Regions from separate parts of the Homo sapiens genome. Here all the other regions are linked to region 1. The links are contacts of gene promoters, found by promoter capture Hi-C in human tissues and cell types (Jung and others, 2019). All regions are on one chromosome and are shown on one strand. The core of a region is centred on a gene start or on the middle of the fragment in contact, and the rest is flanking DNA. Distances in the headings are between cores, read along the strand shown. Region 1 holds the start of HK3 (hexokinase 3). Region 2 has its middle 23 kb from the start of LINC01574. Region 3 has its middle 9.5 kb from the start of LINC01574.

Region 1 (3,963 bases), core at 540-3,039:
CTGCCCAATCCCAAGCCTTTTCCTCAGTCCCCACCTCTGCTGCCCTCTCTCAGGCATGCAAAGCCAGTAGTCATTCTCTTTGCTACAGAATTCCCCCTGTCCTTGGCTTTCACGGCCAGTCTCTCCTAGGTCTCCTTCCTGAGTCTCTCGTAGTCTTCATCAGTAATTTCTGTTCCTTCAGACAATGGGGTTCCCAAGTTTCGGTCATGCCCTCCCTCTACACTCCCTTTATCTCGCCCATTCCCAAGGTTTCATTAATAGCTGTGTCAGGGCTCCCAAATCTACCTTTGGCCTCAGCCAAATCCTAAATCCCAGTGGTCTGTTAGACATCACTATCTGGATGGTGGAGAAGCTCCTCAAATTCAACAAAGCCATACTCATTTTTCCATCACCTTACCCCCACAAAGCTCTTCTGTTCTCCACCTTGACTGGAGACATCGAAGTGTGCTCACTCACACGGCCGTTCGGGCTGCCTGCGCGCATCCCTCACCCTCACCTCCTCTATGCAATTGGATCTCAGGCTCTCTAAGAGCTCTCCTCTGCATCCCCTCCTCCCCATTCCCACACACTGCACCAGACCATCCTCCGGCCTGATTATTACAACAGCCTCCTAAACTGATAGCTCTGCTTCTAGTTTCTTCACCTCCTTACCCCACCCAACTTGATCACCTCTGCACTCATGGCCGGCACAGGGTCTGGTATAGGTATGTGCTAATGTGCCTTTCCAAAATTGGAAGCAAGGGGAGTGGGTAGTTTTTTATTTAATAAAGCAACAAATCAGCTTCTGATAAATCTCCCCAAACCATACATACCTATGCTGAGTTTCCAAATCTGTCAAATAGGGGTGTGGAATTCTTGTTCTATGCTGCAGGTCTATTTCAAGGATAAAATGAGGTAACTGGGGCAATTACCTTCGAAAAGGACTAAGGGCTACACACGTGTCTTTCTCAAGGCCCAGCTAGTTCATTTATTCATTCACTCACTCATTCATTCCCTCATCCATTCAATATTTATTCAGCATTTTTACATGACAGAATCTGTGAAGCAATCCCCAAGTAGCCCTAATATTTATATGCTAGGTAAATGTATTCAGCTCTGTCTCTTCCCACTGAGATTCCCTGTGGGGAGGGACATGTCTCCTTCACTGCAGTATCCCCAGAGCCCAGGGTCTGTTTGCCTAAGGGCCCCGTGGCTTCCCTTAGCTGAATGGGCTACACGAAGTGAGTTTTCCTCCTGAAAAGTACCCCAGGGACCTCTACTGATGTTGGGAGCTGCCATCGAGAACCAGCTGGCAGGCTGGGTGTGGTGGCTTGCACCTGTAATCCCAGCACTTTGGGAGGCTGAGGCAGACAGACTGCTTGAGCCCAGGAATGTGAGACTAGCCTGGGCAACATGGCAAAACGCCATCGCTAGAAAAAAATAACAAAAATTAGCTGGGTGTGGTGGTGTGCGCCTGTAGTCTCAGCTACTCCGGAGGCTGAGGTGGGAGGATCACTTGAACCCAGGAGGTCAAGGCTGGAGTGAGCCCTGACTGTGCCACTGTACTCCAGTCTGGGTGATAGAGAGAGAGACCCCATCTCAAAAACAAAGAAAGAGAACCAGCTGGCTTAATCTTTCCAGTGTCCACTTCCCCTGGTGTGAGCCAAACAGGAGGGATGAGGACAAGACAGCTGTGGAAGGAGCAGGCAGTAATTAGACCGAAGTGCTTACCTGGGACACAGAGAAGCTAGTCACTCTCCTCAGGTCTGAGCTCTTGTCTGGCAATATGAGGCACCCCAATGACCAAAAGCAACACTCAGGGGTGACCCGAGTTATAATATCCTCAAGCCCCACCCTTTTCCTCCACCACCACTTACCAAACATCAGCTAATTCAGGAAGCTGCACTTCCTTCCAAGCCTGCCCTAAGAGTAGCCCAGGCTAGGCAAGGCTGTGGTGAAAACTTGAGCAAGATGATTACCGCGAAGTGGAGCGTTGAACTGGGTCTAAGATTTTGGGCCATTCCCTCTACAATGCTGAGGGCTGTTTATTTTGCAAATATAGTGAGTTCTGAGGTGGTGGCTCGCCCCTAGAAGGAGCTGGAGGCGCCTAGCCTGGAAAGGTTATGGTAAGTACTTTTGAGCAAGAGGCAATGTGGGAGCACAAGCGGAAGGGACTGACTCTGCCGAGAGTGGGCAGGGCTAGCTGAAGAAGCTGAGTCTTGAAGAAAGAACAGCAGTATGCTGACAAAAGTGGTCCTTGACAAAGTGGAGAGCATGTGCACAACCACAAATCACACACACACAGCAATGAGGTGCAGCTCCAGGCGCCTGAAGAGGGTACACCAAGGTAGGAATATATAGTGGGAGAGGAGGTGACAGGCAGACTGCGGAGTCTAGCCTTTAGTCTGTAGCCTGCGCAGGGAGAGTAGGTTCACATCTTAGGTCTTCTCTACTGGAAGAAGGGGAGTGTTAGGCTGCTGTGGAGCTATTGGCGAACAAGCTGTTTTTCTGTGGGAATTTCTCCTCAAAGGCACAGAACCTTGGGGCACCAATGTAGAATACTAGACAGCCTGCAACAATCTTTGTTGAAGGCATGGATACACTTTAAAGCTTCAGGCTGCCTTGTCAGCAGTAACTCTATCCACAGATAGTAGGCCTCCACATGACATCAGGATGGAGACCAGAGATAGTGGCTCCTCTATCAGTAGTGGCATGAAGAGGCCAGGAAACATGCCAAACATCAGTCCTGCTGTGAAGTTTACTGGGTACCAACCAGGCATATAGGCTGTGAAAGGCAGGGAAGTGGGGGATGGGGTGGCAGAGGGTAGAGTGGCTGTCACAAACAACACAGCATCCTGCCTAGCCTGGGATCCCAGTCCCTTTCAACTTTGTTCAGTTGGGAGAGGAGAATGTGGAACTGACTATGAAAGGCCCAGCTGTGATTCATGCAGATAGCCTGCCATTTCTTGAGCCAGGGTGAGGATATGCCCCTGACAAGCATGGCCAGGGCTCTTCATCTGCGTTTCTGGAAGGTCTGTGTCCAGACCCCAGGAGCAGGGGTCCTGGTTCCCTAGTCAGAATGCCAGGGAAAGTCTGGGTCAAGGCCAGTGGAGGGAGAAGGATGGCTGAGCTTGAGGTCTGTGAGCAGCTGGGACAGCCTGGCTGTAGCAGAGGCACTGCAGCTGCCAGCGGTTCTCTTCAGACACCAGATGGCCACTGACCAACAAAGGGAAGGACAAGTCCTCACGAGGTTCCCTCATAGCCCCTTAGTGCCAATCTCCAACTGTAGAGATGGAGCTAAGGAATGAGGAAAGGCAGTTTGCTGGGGGAGAGGTGGGCACAACCAGAGCACTGCCGATGGGCTGGGAGGTCAGGCCTTCCCTCTGCGCTTGCTCACAGGCTTCTCACCACTCACAGTGCCCATGCCAGGCACAGAGATCCTCAATAAGCTCCCCCAATTTGTTCCACACCCTTTATACCGTGAATGTGCCTTGCAGCTCTCCTACACACATCGAGCTACTTCTGTTGTGTCTTTGTTTGCACTGACTTGTCTGGAATGACCCTCCCTTTGGCCTCTCCCACCTTTTCACCTCATTTTTCCTCATCCCTTAAATTATAATCATCAACGACAATGAGGAGCCCTTCTCTGAAAAGCTCCTCCTGGCCGACCCCAGCTGAGTGTGGTCTGCTTATTGGTTCCGTATTATGATGCATGTTCTTGTATCACTGCATTTATATCTGTTTATTAAAGGCATCTGTTTATGTGTTCTTCTTCCCCATTGTACTATGGGCTCCCAGAGAATGTTTCTTATTCACCCGTGCAGCCTCAGACCTCAGTTCTTTATCTGGCAAGGAACAAGTATCAATTAATTTTTGTTAAATTGAAGAGCCCTCCCACAATCTCAATAGTCCACGGCTGGCCAAGCATGATGGCTCACGCCTGTAATCCCAACACTTTGGGAAGCCGAGGTGGACGGATCACTT
Region 2 (3,963 bases), core at 1,088-3,587, 180 kb before region 1:
CCTCGAATCCATTCATGGGGTGGAGTCCTCAGGACCTAATTCCTTCCCAAAGTGCCCAACTCCTAACATTCCCCCAGTAGGGATTCCGTTTCCACATGCATTTTGGAGGGGGCCACACTTCAAGCCGCAGCAAAAGCCTGCCCTGTGGCTTACAGCATCAGCTTACGCAGCCCACTGGGTTCCAGCTCTCCATCTGCCCTGGCCGTCTCTGCTCCTCCTCTGTTTCAGCCAGCTCCATGCTCCCACACCTGTAGAATGCCTTGGCCACCACACTTCTCTCCAGCCAATATTTAAATATTTTTAAAAACATTTCCTATTTCATATGTTTACGCCTGTTCTCCTGGCTAGAAATGTAAGTGCCTTACCCCTTCACTGCAGAGTCCAGGGCCAGGCAACTTGCAAACAATACAGATATACTTTTTGCAAAATGTCCAATAAATGATTTCTTCACTTCCCTGCTCTGTCAAGGAAGAAAGCGTTTATGAACTCATGTATGATTTATAGACACAAATATTGGTAGTGAAAGTTATTCACCCATATCTGACCTTAGTTGTCAACTAGTTTTTATTGTAAAACCAATGTAACGTGAAACATTTTTGGGAAAAAATGGGGAAATCATCCATAATTCTACCTGGCACAACTATTTTCATTTTTATTTTTCCATGTATATTGCCTTCAAGCCCTTTTCCTAAAATGTCCATAGCTCCAATCCTGGTAGTTACTCCCCATAAAACCTGGCTCACAGGACAGGTCCCAAGGCAGCTTTCCTGGACCCTGAGTAACTCCTTGTCTCTCTGCCTCTGTCCTTGACCTTCTCACCCCAAGTGTCGTTCCTTGTTTTCACGTCTCTCCTGCCCTGACGGGGCCAGGAGCTTCCTGGGGGCAGGAGGGCTCCCGCGAGTCTCTTGTGTCCCAAGCACAGAGCCTGGCGCGTGGTTTGTGCTTCTTGCGGTCACAGTTTGGCATTCTGTGCTGTCACTGTGTGTTAGAACAGACGCCTTTTCCCTTGTTGCTCTGTAGTTTTCATAACGATCATTTTTAACCACTCCAGAATATTTCATCAAGTGGATGTTCCATAATTTAGTTAACCAGTCCCCTACCGGGGAACATTTGGGTTGTTTCCAGTTTTTTCTGTATTACAAATAATGCCGCAACAACTGTCCTTGTGCAAGATCATTTATTTCTCCTTTTGAGTAAATTCGTGGAATCCCTGGGTCAGGCAGGCCCCTGGGCTTGGGCACGGCTCACAGGGAGGGACACAGTGCCCCCACCACCATCCCTTCCCTCAGCATAAACACATTCTGTGATGACACAGATCTGTCTTCCTGCTCTTCTGAGCAGTCAGAGATTGTGTTGTCCTCATTCAGCAAATGTTTATTAAAGTTTTATCTATCTTGGATTCTCCAGAGCCTTGTCTTATGCCTTCTGGCTGCTGTAATAAAGCACCATCAGCTAGGTGGCTTACAAACCATAACAGTTTGTTTCTCAAGGTTCTGGAGACTGGGTCAGAGATCAGGGCACTGGCAGGGGTTCTGGTGAGGGCCACTCTTCTGGTTTTGGACGTCAACTTCTTATTGTGTCATCATGGCAGAAAGAGGGCCAGAGAGCTCTCTGGGGTCCCTTTGATAAGGGCACTAATCCATCCATGAGGCTCCACCCTCATGACCAGGGGACCGAGGTTACTTTTTTTTTGGAGAGAGGGTCTCACCCTGTCGCCCAGGCTGCAGTGCAGTGTGGCGATCTCGGCTCACTGCAACCTCTGCCTCCTGGGTTCAAGTGATTCTCCTGCCTCAGCCTCTCGAATAGCTGGGATTACAGGTGTGCACCACCACACTCAGCTAATTTTTGTATTTTAGTAGAGACAGGGTTTCACCATGTTGGTCAGGCTGTTCTCGAACTCCCAACCTCAAGTGATCCGCCCGCCTCGGCCTCCCAAAGTGCTGGGATTACAGGCGTGAGCCACCATGCCCGGCAGAGGTTCCTTTTGACCACCTTAAAACCATCACACTGGGGGTTAGGGCTTTGACGTAGGAATTTGGGGGGATATTGACGTAACAGCCTGTTACATAACCTGGTGTGTCTGAGGCATTTGTGGCCTTGACCTGATGTGCCTGCCCCACATCTGTGCCCCATCTTCTGGCTGCTGGCTCACTGATTTTCTCCTGGGGAACCCCCACCCGTGCCCATGTGCCGCTTCAGTGGGACTGAGGTGACTTTCTGTTACAGCAGTGGACTTGGGCATCAGGCCTGGCCAATCAGAGTACTGCATCTCTGCTTTACAGGGATTGGTTCAGGGAATGTCACATGACTGAGTCAGAGCCAATGATTTGCAACCTTGCGACACTTAGCAATGCCCTTTCTTCCCCCTCAGGGCTGTGAGGACGTCCCAGGAATGATGCCATAATGTCGCTGATGTCATATCGACATAATATTGACAGCGAACATCAGAGCTGCCTGCAGCCAATTTGCCACTGTCTAGGGAGAATCCCTGAAGATGGTGCCAACACAAGGGGAGAGCACCAAGGGAGGCAGAGAGAACCTTCCTTCATTTACTCCTCCTGCCTCTATGTGCTAAGCCCCACTCTGTGCCAGGCCCATTCCTGGCCCTGGGGAAACAGCCACGAACAAGACAGAGTCCCTATTCTCACGGTGCTGACATCCTAGTGAGAGGTGACAGCGTGCTGGCAGTCGTCGCAGCCCTCGCTCGCTCTTGGTGCCTCCTTGGCCTCGGCACTTTTGTGTCTAGCTTGGGGATCGTAAAGGCACCAATCAGCACCCTGTCAAAACGGACCAATCCACTCTCTGTAAAACAGAACAGTCAGCTCTCTGTAAAATGGACCAATCAGCAGGATGTGGGTGGGGCCAGATAAGGGAATAAAAGCAGGCTGCCCGAGCCAGCAGTGGCAACCCGCTCGGGGCCCCTTCCACACTGTGGAAGCTTTGTTTTTTCGCTCCTTGCAATAAATTTTGCTGCTGCTCACCGTTTGGGTCCACACTGCGTTTATGAGCTGTAACACTCACTGGGAAGGTCTGCAGCTTTACTCCTGAGGCCAGCGAGACCACGAACCCACTGGGAGGAAGAAACTGAACACTTCCGAACATCAGAAGGAACAAACTGCGGACACGCGGCCTTTAAGAACTGTTAACACTCACCGCGAGGGTCCGCGGCTTCATTCTTGAAATCAGTGAGACCAAGAACCCACCAATTCCAGACACACTAGCAGGGAGAAGCAGGCCCTAAGCCCAGTAAGCACACAGGTAAACAAGTGAGTAAGTAGGATTGCTCCAGAAAGTGGCAACTGCAGAGAAGAGAAACAGCCCATAGGGGTGAGAGCGGGTAGCTGACGGAGCGTGGCTATTGTGGACTGGCCTTCAGGGGGCCTCTGAAGAGTTGACATTTGAGCGACTTGAACGATGTATTCCAGTTGGAGGCAGTCACCTAAGGCCTAAAGTGGGACATGGCATTGTGCATGTTTTTTGCTTTGTTTTGTTTTACATTTTTCTTTTCTTTCTTTTTTTTTTTTTTTTGAGACAGCGTCTCACTCTGTCACCCAGGCTGGAGGGCAGTGGCATAATCACGGCTCACTGCAGCCTCAAATTCCCCAGGCTCAGGTGATCCTCTCACCTCAGCCTCCCAAGTAGCTGAGATCACAGGCACATGGCACCACACCTGGCTAATTTTTGTATTTTTTGTAGAGACGGGCATCTTCCTATGTTCCCCGGCTGGTCTTGAACTCCTGGTTTCAAGTGATCCGCCCGCCTCCAGCTTCCAAAGTGGTGGGATTACAGGCATGAGCCACTGTGTCTGGTCTTTAATTTTTCAAATATGGTAAAATACACATAACATAAACTACCATTAACCATTTTTTTTCCTGCACAGTTTAGTAGATATGCAGGTTTTGAAGATATTTTTGAACCCCTGGATCCAGCAGTTTCCAAAGCCATCTGCTTCCTGACTTTTCA
Region 3 (3,963 bases), core at 429-2,928, 150 kb before region 1:
TCCTCAGCATGAAAGCACACACACTCTGAGCTCCCTGCTCCTGCCTTCTGTGATCAATGTTTCTAAAGCCCGTGGGCAGCCAGAAATCAGAGTACAATAAATATGTGCAATGGAATGTGGAGGGAGAGTGCAATGAGGATGTTTTTTGGTCTCAATAACAATTTTTTCTTTGGTCTCACCTACAAAGTAGAAGGTCACTAATCCATGAATTGCAGATCAAAAGGAAACTTTGAGACCATGTGGTGAATCAAGCATTCTCACCCTATTTCACAGACGAGGAGACTGAGTCTCAGAGGAGAAGGGGACTTGCCTAAGATTATACAGCAAGTGAGAACTGGCCCTAGAAAGCAATTTTTAGATCAAAAACAACAGCCTAAATTCCTGGACGTATAACACATGCCTACAAATCAATAAGAAAGAACCAGTCGAAAAACGGGGTAAGGATTTCAGAGAAAATACAAACATCATTTAAACATCAGAAAAGATGCTCAACTCCGGGCATAATAGACACACACGTTAAAATTATACTGACACATCTGCTTCTAGCTATGATGGACTAGCCTGCATCAGACCAATCACCCTGCTGGGAGCAATTCGGAAGGCTGGATGAAATACTACAGAAACAGCTGTTTGAAGATACTGGAGAGGCACCAAGGGTCCCAGATCCCAGATCCCAGAGAGGAGGGAAGCTCACAGAGGGGAGCCTGCTGTTCGGCAGAGCTCTGTCCCCTGCAGTGTTTGCCACTTCTGAGCAGTGCCTGAGAGGCTGAGAAGCACGTTAGCCATCTCATGGGGCTGGGGAGACAAAAACTGGAATCCAGGGCCTCTTGAGAAATAAGGACCCTATCTATATCCCCATATTCAGAACAGCACGACAAAATAGCTTAAAGGCAGAAGCAACTCAAGCGCCCATCGACAGATGAAAAAGGATAAACAAAATGTGGCATATACACTCAAGGGAACATTACTCAGCTTTAAAAAGGAAGGAAGTTCTGACACACGGTACGATGTGGATGAACCTAGACAACGTTACGCTAAGTGAAGTCAGCCAGTTGCATGAAGACAAATACTGCATGATTCCACTTACGTGAGATATTCAGAGTAATCACCTTCATAGAGACAGAAAGTGGAATGGTAGTTGCCAGGGGCTTGAAGGAGGTGGAATTAGGAGTTAGTGTTTAATAGATGTGGCGTTTCACTTGGGGATGATGGAAAGAGTTCTGGAGATGGATGGTGCTGATGGCTGCACAACAATGGGAAGGTACTTAATGCACTGACATACACACTTAAACAGGGTTAAGATGGTAAATCTTATGTTCTGTGTATTTCAGAACAATTTTTCTAAAAGCAAGAACGTTGGTAAATAGCCTAGGCTTTCATCCGGGATCCCAAAGCACTATACCCTAGAAGTAAGTTAGCCAGAACGAAACCGGCCCTTTCAGGGACTGCAGGCCTGTTTCAAATCATCTTAATTCCTGGTTGGATAAATGCAATTTAAGATTGATGCTGCCCCTGGCTTAGCAGAAGTTAAAGTAAATCCTCCCTGGAGGAGGATAACAGCATCCAGAGCCTCAAATTACCTTTTCCATGTTCATTTATTATGTCTGATATTCAGTGAAAAACAGAAATGCAGAAATACAAGAACGGGATGAAAACCAAGAGAAAAATAACACATTACAAACATATCCACGTGGTCTCAGATATTCGAGGTACCATAGTTGGCCTTTGAAATAACTGTAATTAGTATATTCAAGAAGCTAGATAACAAGAACGGGAATTTCAGCAGAGAACTAGAAACTATTAGAAAAAAGAATCAAATGGAAATTCTAAAAATAAAAAAGGGGGTGATAAATTTGACAGAAGATGTGTAAGATCTGCACATATAAAACTCAAAACATTGCTGAGAGAAATTAAAGGAAATATAAATACAGAAATACATTGCGTTCATGGATTGGAAGATTCAATGTGGTTAAGATGTTGATTCTCCCAAACTCATCTATAAAAACAATTTTTTTTTTTTTTGGTGGAGATTGACAAGCTCATTCTAAAATCTCTATGGAATGATCTAGAATAACCAAACATTTTGAAAAAGAAGAATAAGATGGGGAATTTACACTACCTTATTTCGAGACATTATTAAAGCTACAATAGTCAAGACAGTGTGGTATTGGTATAAAGATAGACATCTAGATCAATGGAACAGAAGAATGATTCAAGAAACAGACCACAGCTGTTGATTTTTGAAAAAGATACCAAGGCAATTAATGAATAAAGGATATTCTTTTCAACAACTGATGCTAGAACACTTGGATAAACATATGTAAAAAGATAAAAATAAAATTTAAAAGAAACCTTGACCTTATCTCACACCGTATACAAACTGAAATGGTCTATGATCCTTGAAATTAGGGTCTATGATCCTCATAAAGTAGGCCTAAAAAATTAGATGTATGGTCCTTGAAATGGATCATAGACCAAAATGTAAAAGCAAAGCTATAAAACTTCTAGAAGAAAATCTTAGCAATCTTGGGTTTGGTAAAGTTTTCTTAAATATGACAAAAACAATGACATATACAAGAAAAATAATAAAATGGACTTCACTAAGCTTAAAATATTTAGTCTTTAAAAGACACTATTCTGTTTGGCAGTTTCTTAAATATATACTTGCCATATGACTTAGCAATTCTTCTAGAAGAAAAGATGTGTTCACACAAAGACTTGCATGTGATTGCTAATGACAACTTTAATTATAATAGGCAAAAACTGGAAACAATTCAAATGTCCATCAAATGGTAAATTCATAAGCAAAGTATGGTATATTCACATAATGGAATACTACTCAGCAATGAAATGAGTTATTGATAGATGCAACAAGATATAGATGAATCTCAAAAACATTATGCTAAGTGAGAGAAGCCAGACACAAAAGGATATATGTGTATATATTTTTAGAGACAAGGTCTCACTCTGTTGCCCAGGCTGAAGTGCAGTAGCTCACGATAACCTTGAACACCTGTGCTTAAGTGATCCTCCCACCTCGGCTTCCCGAATAGCTGGGACTACAGGCGTCCTCCACCATGCCTGGCTAGTTTTTCAAATTTTTTGTAAAGACAAAGTCTCACTATGTTGCCCAGGCCCAAACTCCTGCCTCAAGCGATCCTCTTGCCTTGGCCTCCTGAGTCACTGGGATTACAGGTGTGAGCCACCACACCCAGTCTGTATGTTTATATACATACATACATACATACGTATATATATATATGAAATTTCTAGAAAAGGCAAAACTATATATCTAATAAGCATATCAGTGAGTGTCTGAGGCCCATGATGAGAGTGAGGCATGACTATAAACAGGCACAGGGGAACTTTTGGGGGTAGGGAAAGTGTTCTAAAATGGTATTGTGGTGATAGGTGAACAATCAAATTATTTACTAAAAATCATTGACCTGCACACTTACAATGGACGAATTGTATAATGTGTAAATTAGACTTTAGTAAAGCTGTTAAAAGTGGGAGGAAAAGACAGTGATAAAAAATTAAAAGGCCAACCGCAAACCTGGGGAAAGTATTTGCAAAATATATATCTGACAAAGGACTTGTATCTAGAATAGATTGAAAACTATTACAGCTCAATAAGAAGACGATAAACAACCCAATTTGTTAAATGGGCAAAATATTTGTTCAGACATTTCACCATAGAAGTTAAATGGTTGTCAAACAAATGCAGGAAAGGACACCCAACAACATTCATCATCAGGGAAATGCCAATGAAAAAACCACAATGAGATTCTACCATCCAGCCACTAGAATGACTAATGTTAAAAACATTGATCACACCAAGTGTTGGTGAGGATGTGAAGCAACTAGAACTCTGACACAAAGATTCATCCATGAATGTTCATAATAATGTCATTGTTAGAGCCAACATCTGTAAAAATCCAGAGGCTCAACATCATCAGACAG

The links. Contacts are between HindIII fragments. The study calls those that stand out against the background at their distance.
Region 2: a contact is called between a fragment that was not itself captured here and the fragment with the promoter of HK3 in region 1, in 2 of the 25 tissues and cell types used here (liver and mesendoderm cells).
Region 3: a contact is called between a fragment that was not itself captured here and the fragment with the promoter of HK3 in region 1, in 2 of the 25 tissues and cell types used here (IMR-90 fibroblasts and lymphoblastoid cells).

The regions. Positions count from the first base shown.
Region 1 is chr5:176,897,557-176,901,519 of GRCh38, forward strand. It overlaps HK3 (hexokinase 3), which reads right to left and starts at 1,790. Exons shown (of 19, transcript NM_002115.3): 1 at 1,711-1,790. RefSeq lists an enhancer at 2,610-3,111. The HindIII fragment of the contact is 11,300 bases long and covers 1-3,542 here.
Region 2 is chr5:176,718,372-176,722,334 of GRCh38, forward strand. No RefSeq gene overlaps it. Among named protein-coding and RNA genes, the nearest start is that of LINC01574, 23 kb to the right of the region's middle. RefSeq lists an enhancer at 2,767-3,266. The HindIII fragment of the contact is 3,324 bases long and covers 676-3,963 here.
Region 3 is chr5:176,750,735-176,754,697 of GRCh38, forward strand. No RefSeq gene overlaps it. Among named protein-coding and RNA genes, the nearest start is that of LINC01574, 9.5 kb to the left of the region's middle. The HindIII fragment of the contact is 5,468 bases long and covers 1-3,963 here.